Regions from separate parts of the Homo sapiens genome. Here regions 2 and 3 are each linked to region 1. The links are contacts of gene promoters, found by promoter capture Hi-C in human tissues and cell types (Jung and others, 2019). All regions are on one chromosome and are shown on one strand. Each heading gives the region's core, a stretch centred on a gene start or on the middle of the fragment in contact. The rest is flanking DNA. Distances are from core to core; before and after follow the strand shown.

Region 1 (3,690 bases), core at 414-2,913:
TTCAAAATTAAACTATAAACTAAGTTTCTCCCCAAGTTAATTCGCCCTAAGCCCAGGAATGAACAAGGATGGCTTGGCGGTTAGAAGCAAGATGGAGCCAGTTAGGTCAGATCTCTTTCACTGTAATAATTTTCTCTATTATAATTTTTTCAAAGGCGGTTTCAAAAAGGCAATGTTTGCTGGGTGCGGTGGCTCACGCTGTAATTCCAGCACTTTGGGAGGCCCAGGCGGACGGATCCCTTGAGCTCAAGAGTTGTCGACCAGACTGGCCAACATGGTGAAACCCTGTCTCTACTTAAAATACAAAATAGCCAGGTGTGGTGGCCTGAGCCTGTAGTCCCAGCTACTCAGAGGGCTGAGGGGGGAAAATTACCTCAGCCCGGGAAGTGGAGGCTGCAGTGAGCTGAGATGGCGCCACTGCACTCCACCTGGGTAACGGGAGTTAAGACCCTGTCTCCAAAAAAAAAAGGCAATGTCATTATTCAACATAAGCCTGAGTAGGCCATTCCCATGCCCATTCCTTAGATGACATATCTACTGTATATTTGCAAAAGATCAACATAGTTTCTAGGGTTAGCTAGAATTAATCCAAGATTGCGCCGGTTGCGGTGGCTCATGCCTGTAATCCCAGCACTTTGGGAGGCCGAGGTGGGCGGATCACGAGGTCAGGAAATTGAGACCGTCCTGGCTAACACGGTGAAACCCCGTCTATACTTAAAAAATTCAAAAAATTAGCTGGGCGTGGTGGCGGGCGCCTGTAGTCCCAGCTACTCGGGAGGCTGAGGCAGGAGAATGGCGTGAACCCGGGAGGCGGAGCTTACAGTGAGCCGAGTTCGCGCCACTGCACTCCAGCCTGGGCGACAGAGCGAGACTCCATCTCAAAAAAAAAAAAATCCAAGATTGCTTGTTAGAAATTAACATTGCTTTTTGAAAAATTGCCTAATAAAACAATTCTTTAGCAGTGATTCCCATCTTCCATATGCTTAAGAAATATTCCATAACCATCTAGCCAAGAAAATTCCTAGTGAATTCGTATTAATCTAGGGCAGATATTACAAATATTTTTAAAAGACTATTTTAAAATCAAAGGGTGGTACTGTGGTGTTGGAAATGGAAAGCCTAAATAACAGTCTAATCACTCTGGAGCTGTGTGACCTTGGGCAAGTTACCTAACTTCTGTTTCCTTATTAATCCCGGGTCTTAAAACACTTCAGAGATAATTGTGGGAATGAAATACACACTGCAGTCCCTACCAGCACTAGGTACCCAATAAAAGAGAGTTTCATTTTAATATCAAACAGAAAACCCGCACTGCAAAACTGAAACCCTTGCGTCCTACCAATGCACACCAAGTTTTTGGGCCTTTCCTCTTAACCTCAAAGTGCTCTTTTCTTGAACCTAAACGAGAATGAATGAATCAAAAGGAAAATGACAAGGAAGCTGCGGGGCGTGCATTTATTTCCAGCTCTGCTGCCCGTAGAGTCCCCCGGCCCACTGCCTGAGAACTGGAAAAGCCGTCTCTGCTCAGCCGAGGGGTTCTGCCATCTCCGGGGCGGGGACCTCACCTTGGAAAGACCCCTCCCACTCCGCCCCTCTTGGAATGCGGCTGAGCGGTGGATGTCCCTTTTCGGGCGCCGTAGGCGCGTTCCTATTGGCTAGCTTTGTTCGGCGCCAAAGCGCGGAGCGGAGGCCGAGGCGAGAGCCTGGCGCTGTAGGACTAGAACGAAAGGAGTGAGGCGCCGAGAGCCCAGATACCATTTTGGCGTGAGAGCTGGTGGTTGGCAAGGCCGCGGGAGTGGGAAGCGTCCGCCATGTTCTGCGAAAAAGCCATGGAACTGATCCGCGAGCTGCATCGCGCGCCCGAAGGGCAACTGCCTGCCTTCAACGTGAGGGGCGGGTAGACTTGGACGGGGCATGCCGGCGTTGGGCCCTGGGCTCTGGGGCGGGGCGGCTCCCCGTCAGGGTTCACTTTCGCACCTTGTTCCCTCCGAGCTCCGGAAAACTTGGGAAGCAGCAAAACAAAATTCAGGAGGAAAGAGAAAGCATTCATGCTTACGCTACCCAGCGATTTGGTGAATTTCCTCATCTGAGCAAATTTTGCATTTTAGCAGTTTTCCTTGGACAGATTTGTTCCGGTCCCTTAAAATATTTACAGGTTGCCTGATAATTTAGCATTTCTTGCTCACTCAGGCATCTAATCGTGGTCAGTAAAAGCTAGGCCTCTGGAACCTGGCTGAGATTCTGGTTCTGTAGTGTGACTTTGGGGCAGTTACTCAAGCTTTCTGTGCTCTCAGTTTTCTCATACGCAAAAATGGGGATGGTGACAATAATAGTACCCAACGCATGATGTAGTGGACGCAAAATGAGTGGCATGTGTAAGGGTCTCTGCATATGCCTCACATACAGTAAGGGCTGAGTCAGTGTTAGCTATTAATATTACTTTTCTCCTGCTGCTGCTGTTACTATTAATATTATGATTATTTGTATTTTTCTATCACTGCTACCCCAGGGAGAGTGCTAAGCACTTCATGTACATTATCTTTTGTCTTTCTAATAACCCTTTGAGGGCCCGGTACCATGGCTCCTGCCTGTAATCCCAGCACTTTGGGAGGCTGAGGCGGGAGGATCGCTTGATCCTGCCACTGCATTCCAGCCTGAGTGACAGGGAGACCCTGTCCCAAACAAAACAAAAATAACTTTTTGATGTTTAAACTATTGTTTTCTACTTTTTTCAGCTATATATGCATAGGATTGGGGAGATTTAAGTATATTGCCTAAGGTGACACAGCAAGAAAGCTAGGATTTGAACCCTGGCACTCTGGCTCCAGAGCCTGCACTCTAAATTGTATATTTCACTTACGTCATAGAGCAGGCATTATGTGGATGTCAGGACACATTCTGCTGGAAGATGGGCACAAAAACAGATAATAGAATTCACCACGCTAAGTGATACTAAGGAGGTATAGCAAGGAGCACGAAGGAGAAACACCAGTATGAGCTGGGGTAGAAGAGGTGATATATGAGCCTTTCCATCCTCAAGGATGAGGTTACTGATCTGAGAAGGAAGCGAGGCATCCCAGCCAAAGGATGCTGCAGCACAAAGTCACGTGGTCACACTGGAGAGGGTGACCAATAGGGCCTGTGGGGAGTCTAGGAAGGTGGCTCACAGCCTACATGAATTTGTTGTTCACTTATAAGGCATGCTGGGAGCTGGTAGAGGATTTTAGACAAGGAAGTGATAGGGTAATTTTTGTGTTTTGAAGGTAACTGCGGCAGCAATATGGGGAATGGATTGAAGAGAGGAAAGAATGGGACAGGGAGATGGCTACTGGGTGGCTGATAGAGCAGGTGAGAGGTGTGTGGTCTGAACTGTGTCAGGTCAGTGGCACTGAGATCAGTGTTTGGGTTTTAGAGACATGAAGCAAACATGACTTGTAGCTATTAGAGCAGGGGCAGAGATGGGGTCCATAATGAATAAGAGGGAGGAATTGGGATCTTGGAGGATCCTTAGGAAACTGGGTAAACAACATCAGAGTTCAGGAGATAGAGTGTGTTGGGAAAGGTAATGAGTTTTGTTTTGAACACTAAAGAGCACCTAGCCAGACAATTAGATTGTCTTACAAATGAAGAAACTGAGCTGACACAAATTATGGGTCAAGTTAAGGAACTCGTCTGAATTTACAGCATATT
Region 2 (3,690 bases), core at 785-3,284, 250 kb before region 1:
TTTTCTTGTCTAATTTCTTTGGCTAGAACTTCTAGTGCAATATTGAATGGAAATGGCAAAAGTGGGTATCCATTCCTTATTTCTGAGTTTATAAGGAATGATGTCAGTCTTTCACCTTTGATGGTGGGATGTTAGTTGTGGGATTTGCACAAATGTTCTTTTTTTTGTTTTATACTTTAAGTTTTAGGGTACATGTGCACAACCTGCAGGTTAGTTACATATGTATACATGTGCCATGTTGGTGTGCTGCACCCCTTAACTCATCATTGAACATTAGGTATATCTCCTAATGCTATCCTTCCCCCCTCCCCCCGCCCCACAACAGGCCCCGGTGTGTGATATTCCCCTTCCTGTGTCCATGTGTTCTCATTATTCAATTCCCACCAAATGTTCTTTATGATATTGAAGAAGTTTCCTCCTACTACTAGTTTGTCAATTACTTTTATCATAAAAAGGTGTTCAATTTTGTTAAATGCTTTTTCTGCATTGATGGAGGTGATCGTGTTTCTTTCCTTCATTCTATTAACGTAGTATATAAAACAGATTGATTTTCATATACTGAACCACCCTTGCATTCCTGGAATAAGTCCCACTTGGTTATGATGTGTACTCCTCTAAAGGTGTTGAATTAGATTTGCTAGTTTTTTGTATTTATACTGCTATGGACTGAATTGTGTTCCCCAAAAATTTATAGATTAAATTCCTAACGCCTAATGTGGCTGATTTAGAGATAGGGTCTTTAGAAGGTAATTAAGATTATTAAGTTCATAAGGCCTAATTCAACAGGATTGGTGGCCTTATAAGAAGAGGAAGAGAGAAATATCTCTCCCTCTCTCTTTTGTCACATGCACTCAGAGCTAAGGCCATCTGAGGACCGCAGTGACAAGGTGGCCATCTGCAAATCAGGAAAGAGCCCCCTCCAGACAACCTCACTGGGCCTTCATCTGGGACTTCCAGCCTCCAGTACTGTGAGAAATAAATGTCTGTTGTTTAAACCACCCAATCTATAGCATTTTGTTATGGCAACCCAACCTGACTAATATGTGTACTCACAAGGGATATGATCTATATTTTTCTTTTCTTGTGATGTCTGTATCTGGCTTTGGTATCAGGGTAATGCTGGCCTCAGAGAATTAGTTAGAAAGCTTTCCCTCCTCTTCTACTTTTTGGAAGAGTTTGAGAAGGATTGTTGTTAATTCTTGTGTGAGCACTACTTTGTAATCCTTAATGACACACATGCAGATATTCATATAATAAATCTTAAGATATCTACGTGATGACAAAGTATTGAAATACATACATAAACTACCAGGTAAGATTAACAGTCTGAATATAGGGGTTCAGCATTTTATTCTTCCTTAGACAATATCTTCTGTTTGGGAAAATAATTTTAGTGTTAAATTTGCAATAACATATTGTTTTTTAATGCATATGCCCAACAGTGATTTTTATATAGACAGTTTTCAATATTTCATTGTTTCTCCGCATACCCCAACTCATTAAGTCGTTCCCAGTCTTCCTCCTGGGCATGCATATATGTCAACACCAGTTCATTTTCCCATCCAGGGTACACACTGAGCCTTGTGTTTCAGGAACCTTTGACCTGAGCATAACATACCAAGGGCAAAATCTTTGTAACAGGTGACACAAATAAATATCTAAAACTTAAATTCACAGAGAACCACCACAGTTTCAGGTTGGATGTCAAGAAAACTGCCATTAATTTCCTCACCAAGAAGATGTCCTAGAGAAATCAATAAAGCTCTTAATACTAAAAGAAAAAAAATTAAATAATTTCTGCAGTTTTCAAATGCTATGTTTTCAGAAGATACTTTCACAACTCAGCCTCCTGACATAGCTGGGACTCCAGGTGCACACCACCACACTCAGTTGATATTTCTTACTTTCTTTTTTAGTGATGGGGTCTTGCAATGCCCAGGCTGGTCTGAAACTACTCCTGGGATCTAGTAATCCTCCCACCTCGGCCTCCCAAAATGTTGGGATTACAGGTGTGAGCCACCACCCAGCCAGAAGATACTTTTCCTACAAACTTGTGTTCATAGCTTATATGTCTGATATACAACTAAAGTGAAACAGCAATGAACGGAGTAAACACATATTTGATCTGAGGTATAATTCCATGGACCTTCCATGGATCATCAATTTTCAAAAATTTAGAATGCATGGAATCGTACTCAACACTACACTGTGCTGAAAGACTACAATGGCACATTAGGGCCTTGCAGCCATCTCAGGTTGTCATTGTGAACATTGGTCATAGTTTAATAAAACTGGGGAAAAGCTGAAGTCAGCTTAAAAGAATTCTGAAGAATAAGATTTACTATTATTACCTTGGGAAGACTTGAGCTACCTTAGAAACAAGAAACAAAACCTAATAACATTTAAAGTTACAGCAGAAAAAATCCAGTCAACCTGAAATTTTTTTTAATGACAACTTTTCAGTTAGAATTTTTGTTTTGAGAAAAATAAGCTTAGTATAGAAATAAGATAAGAAAAAGACATAAGAGATAAGAAATAAGATAAGAAAAATAAGTTTAGTATAGAAATAAGATAGCCAATTCCTTTTCCATAAAATCAGTAAGTGATAGTAAATCTGTCCATTATGTTAAAGACCACCAAAAATGGAATTGCTGCCATGCATTTGAAATAGGAAATTGTTACGGACATTTTAATGTGCAAAAGGTTTTGTCCTGCAGTAGCCCCTGAGGCATTAATATTTTGTTTTGCAGGAAGTTGACTCTCTATTAGGATATACCTATTTTTAAAGATTAGTAACTAATCATAATTTCCTTAATAAGGGAGGAAGTACCAAATTTCAAGACAGCCGTTAAGATAATTCATTCAGATTTTTCACAAAGAATTTTCTAGCTGTTTCCACACAGTCTATGGAAAACTCACCCTTTAGGGATAAAACACTTGAGAACAATTGAAGTGTACAGTATAATCCTGAAATAACCCAGTGATTATTTTACAAAAAAATCTCTATGTCAACAAGAAAAATAACCTTTGGGATAATAGTAAAATAAAGGAACAAAATGAACATAAGTGACTCCAAAGCTGAATTTACCTGAACTTCTTCAGAAACTTCATTTTATGTCATCCAGGTCTGAGTTAATTAAAGGGACCTGTGAAAACAATAGCATGTGTGTTGTTTTTGTGAAAAGAAAAAAACAGTTTCCTTTATTTGAGGTCTAAAGTATTTTTCTCTTCCTCCATTCTTCCTCTTTAATGGGTAGTAAATTCTTACGATATGTCAGTAAGTTACAATTCATAAGCTCTTCACGGGTGGGTATGTCTTGTGTATTCTAGCCCATTAAGGAATAAATTTCCACAGCAGGCTTGTTTTTCCCTTAAGATAATTAATTAGCTAACCAGTTTAGGAAGAAAGAAGTTGCAGAAGGGAGGACAAAGCACCGGTGATCTCACTTCTCAGTTTCAATAATTTGAAATTATGACTCATCAGAGAAAATGACTGATACTCTGCTTATCAGAACACTGCTAACTTTCTATTGATGAATGTAAGTCATAGCCACCAAGGAAAAAATGAAGAGCCACCTGGCAGAGACAAATATATTGTGGCCAGAAGAAAGAGACTATTCTGAGACACACATAGCTCTTTGACTTCTTTGATCCCTAGGGAATACTTCAAAATTTGCAGAAATGAAAAGC
Region 3 (3,690 bases), core at 777-3,276, 230 kb after region 1:
TTTTCTTAATCCAGTCTATCATTGGTGAACATTTTGGTTGGTTCCAAGTCTTTGCTATTGTGAACAGTGCCACAATAAACATACATGTGCATGTGTATTTATACTAGCATGATTTATAATCCTTTGGGTATATAGCACCCAATAATGGGATCACTGGGTCAAATGGTATTTCTAGTCCTAGATCCTTGAGGAATTGCCACACTGTCTTCCACAATGGTTGAACTAATTTACACTCCCACCAACAGTGTAAAAGCGTTCCTATTTCTCCACATCCTCTCCAGCATCTGTTGTTTCCTGACTTTTTAATGATCGCCACTCTAACTGGCATAAGATGGTATCTCATTGTGGTTTTGATTTGCATTTCTCTGATGACCAGTGATGATGAGCATTTTTTCATGTGTCTATTGGCTGCATAAAAATGTCCTATTTTGAGAAGTGTCTGTTCATATCCTTTGCCCAATTTTTGATGGGGTTGTTTGATTTTTTCTTGTAAATTTGTTTAAGTTCTTTGTAGATTCTGCATATTAGCCCTTTGTCAGATGGGTAGATTGCAAAAATTTTCTCCCATTCTGTAGGTTACCTGTTTACTATGATGGTAGTTTCTTTTGCTGTGCAGAAGCTCTTTAGTTTAATTAGATCCCATTTGTCTATTTTCGCTTTTGTTGCCATTGCTTTAGGTGTTTTAGTCATGAAGTCCTTGCCCACACCTATGTCCTGAATGGTATTGCCTAAGTTTTCTTCTAGGGTGTTTATGGATTTAGTCTAACATTTGTGGATGAATGAGTCTTCGTGTAGCATTTTAAGGAGGGGAGATGTACAGACTCATTACAGATGAACCTGTTTGCTAAGCACAGTACTTAAACTGCCATTTTGATAGATTAACACTAGTAGTTAGAGGACATCTTCAAATTTGCAGGAAACAAGGTTTGAATAGAAGATTTGTAAGTCACTGTTCTCAGTGGCTCATGCCTATAACCTCAGCACTTTGGGAGGCTGAGGCAGTCAGATTGCTTTAGGCCAGGAGTTTGAGACCAGGCTGGCCAACATGGTGAGACCCCATATCTACAAAAAATTTGAAAATTAGCTGGGTGTAGTGGTGTGTGCCTGTGGTCCCATCTGCTTGGGAGGCTGAGGTGGGAGAATAGCTTGAGCTCAGGAGGTTGAGGCTACAGTGAGCTATGGTCCTGCCTCTGCACTTTAGCCTCGGCGACAATAAGACTCTGCCTCAAAAAAAAAAAAAAAAAAAAAGATTTTTGACTGTGAGACTTGATCTAGGAATGAATGGAAATGCAACTGTAGTCATGTTTCTCCTGCATTCTTCCATCTGCAGAATGGCACCATTGTTGTGCGGATGCTGATGCCCAGCGTTGAGCCTGTCGTCTCCTATATTAGGGGAAGTTCTCCTGGCCCTTCCCAACTACCTCCCCTGTGCAAGTTTATTACAACTGAACGGCCTCAAGGGCAAGTGTGCCTTCTGGTTTAAAGTTTTCTCAGATTAGGGCACTGTCAGGTTTATAGGGATGAAACAGAAGCAACCAGAAGAGAATCTTAGGCTCCCACATCTACCCAGCTACCGCCAGCCCTTTCTGTTGTTTGCTGGATCCCACCCTTACTGAGGGGCATCTTTCAGCAATTCTTTCCTCCTTGGTTTTGCATCTTCAAAGTTCTCCCACCCTTTGAATCCACTCCATTTAGCATTTCACTGACACCACTCCACCGAAACTACTCTTGTCAGGCCACCAATGACCTTCACCTTGCTCTTCAATCGCCATTTCCTGGCCTCTTCTTATTTGTCCTATCAGTAGCATTTGAACTAGCCAGTCACTGCTTTCTCCTTGATAAGCTTTTTTTTTTCTCTTTCTGTTTTTCTTTTTGAGATGGAGTCTCACTCTGTTGTCTGTTGCCCAGACTGCAGTGCAGTGGCACAATCCTGGTTCACTGCAATCTCCACCTCCTGGGTCCAAGCAATTTTCCTGCCTCACCCTCCTAAGAAGCTGGGGTTACAGGTGAGCACCACCGTGCCCAGCTAATTTTTGTATTTTTAGTAGAGATGGGGTTTCACTATGTTTCCCAGGCTGGTCTCGAACTCCTGACCTCTAGTGATCCACCCATCTTGGCCTCCCAAAGTGCTGGGATTACAGGTGTAAGCCACCGTGCCCAGCTGATAAACTTTCTTTACTTGGCTTTTGGGACACCACACTTTCTTCATTTTCTTCCCGGCTCACTGACTACTCTTCCTAGTCTCTTTTCTGGTTCCTCCCATTTCCCTGACTTTCTGGTATTAGAGTGCCCCAGGGCTGCTTAATTACACGCACTTCTTTGGTGATCTCATTCACTTTTATGACTTTAAATACCATCTGTATGTATATGCTGATGACTCAAAATTGTATCTTCCCTGGATTCTTAACACTTAGCTTGGCCAGAGGATAGAAAAGTAAATACAGCCAATTAATCCCGGAAAGGTGGTCAATCATACTCACATTTTAAGAAATGCAAATCCAAACTATAAGAAGATACCACCTACATATATGGGATAAGCAAAAGTTTAACATTTGACAGTCAGAGCTGGTGACCATGTAGGAAAACAGGCCCTTAGGTACTGGTGGAGGGAATGTAAATTGGTGCAGCCTCCTTTGAGAATAATTTGGCATAATCTGTCCCTTAAACAATCATTCCCACTGCTAGGAATTTACCCTTGGAAATACTTTCACGACTTTTACAGGATGCAGATACTAGAGCATTTCCTGCAGCACTGTATATTCAAAAGGGTGGAAACCACCCTTGGGTGCTTCAGGAACCACAAAATAAAATTTGGCATATCTGCAGGATGGAATACTATGAGACCTAAATGTAAACAGAGGAGATTCTTCTGCATGTTGGGGATCACAAGATTCACAATGATTTATAGAAGCTGCCAACCAAAGTTTTCTTGGGGCAGTTTCCCTAGAAGTAGGATGAAAAAAGACTTCCTTTCATGCCCCTCCTTTTCTGTCCCCTTATTACCGAAGAGTGAGTGCAGGAGGATAAAATGTGGAGGCCCCTGCTTCCTTAATTACTGGTCTAGTCACAGCCATTCTTGAGGCCCACTTTCTCCATGAAGTATTTTTTTACATCCCATGATCCCAGGCACTTTATTTCTTTAGTTCTCAACAGTATCCCCAAATTACCAGCCTGCATCTGTCATCCTGTATTTATTGCTGGTTTTTTTTCTTTTCTTTTAGATGAAGTCTGGCTCTGTTGCCCAAGCTGGAGTGTGTTGGCACCATCTTGGTTCACTGCAACTTCCACCTCCCAGGCTCCAGTGATTCTCCTGCCTCAGCCTCAAGGGTAGCTGAGATTACAGGTGCCTGCCACCACGCCTGGCTAATATTTGTATTTTTAGTAGAGATGGGGTTTCACCGTGTTGGCCAGGCTGGTCTCAAACTCCTGACCTCAAGTTATCTGCCTGCCTTGGCCTCCCAAAGTGCTGGGATTACAGGCATGAGCCACTGCACCTGGCCCATTTATTGCAAGTTTTTGAGAGCACTAATATATTTATTATTCTCCCACAGCATAGACCTGTGCCAAATACAGAATAAGTTTCCAAGCATTTGTTGAAGTCAGAAGTGAAAATAAGAAGACACCAAATGAATAATAACTAAACTAGAACACACTCAAATTAATACCAGCTGACCAACAAGGTTGTCAAAG

What was found. Contacts are between HindIII fragments. The study calls those that stand out against the background at their distance.
Region 2: a fragment that was not itself captured here is called in contact with the fragment with the promoter of GINS1 in region 1 in 1 of the 25 tissues and cell types used here (aorta).
Region 3: a fragment that was not itself captured here is called in contact with the fragment with the promoter of GINS1 in region 1 in 1 of the 25 tissues and cell types used here (spleen).

The regions. Positions count from the first base shown.
Region 1 is chr20:25,406,010-25,409,699 of GRCh38, forward strand. It overlaps GINS1 (GINS complex subunit 1), which reads left to right and starts at 1,664. Exons shown (of 7, transcript NM_021067.5): 1 at 1,664-1,886. The coding sequence starts at 1,812. LOC105372581 (a long non-coding RNA gene) reads right to left here and starts at 2,286. Exons shown (of 3, transcript XR_937403.3): 1 at 2,062-2,286. RefSeq lists enhancers at 1,706-1,955, 2,053-2,810. The HindIII fragment of the contact is 13,310 bases long and covers 1-3,690 here.
Region 2 is chr20:25,157,205-25,160,894 of GRCh38, forward strand. No RefSeq gene overlaps it. Among named protein-coding and RNA genes, the nearest start is that of ENTPD6, 37 kb to the right of the region's middle. The HindIII fragment of the contact is 4,080 bases long and covers 1-3,690 here.
Region 3 is chr20:25,630,828-25,634,517 of GRCh38, forward strand. The region is part of intron 1 of ZNF337-AS1 (ZNF337 antisense RNA 1); the gene reads left to right. Among named protein-coding and RNA genes, the nearest start is that of ZNF337-AS1, 8.6 kb to the left of the region's middle. RefSeq lists an enhancer at 3,501-3,550. The HindIII fragment of the contact is 7,167 bases long and covers 1-3,690 here.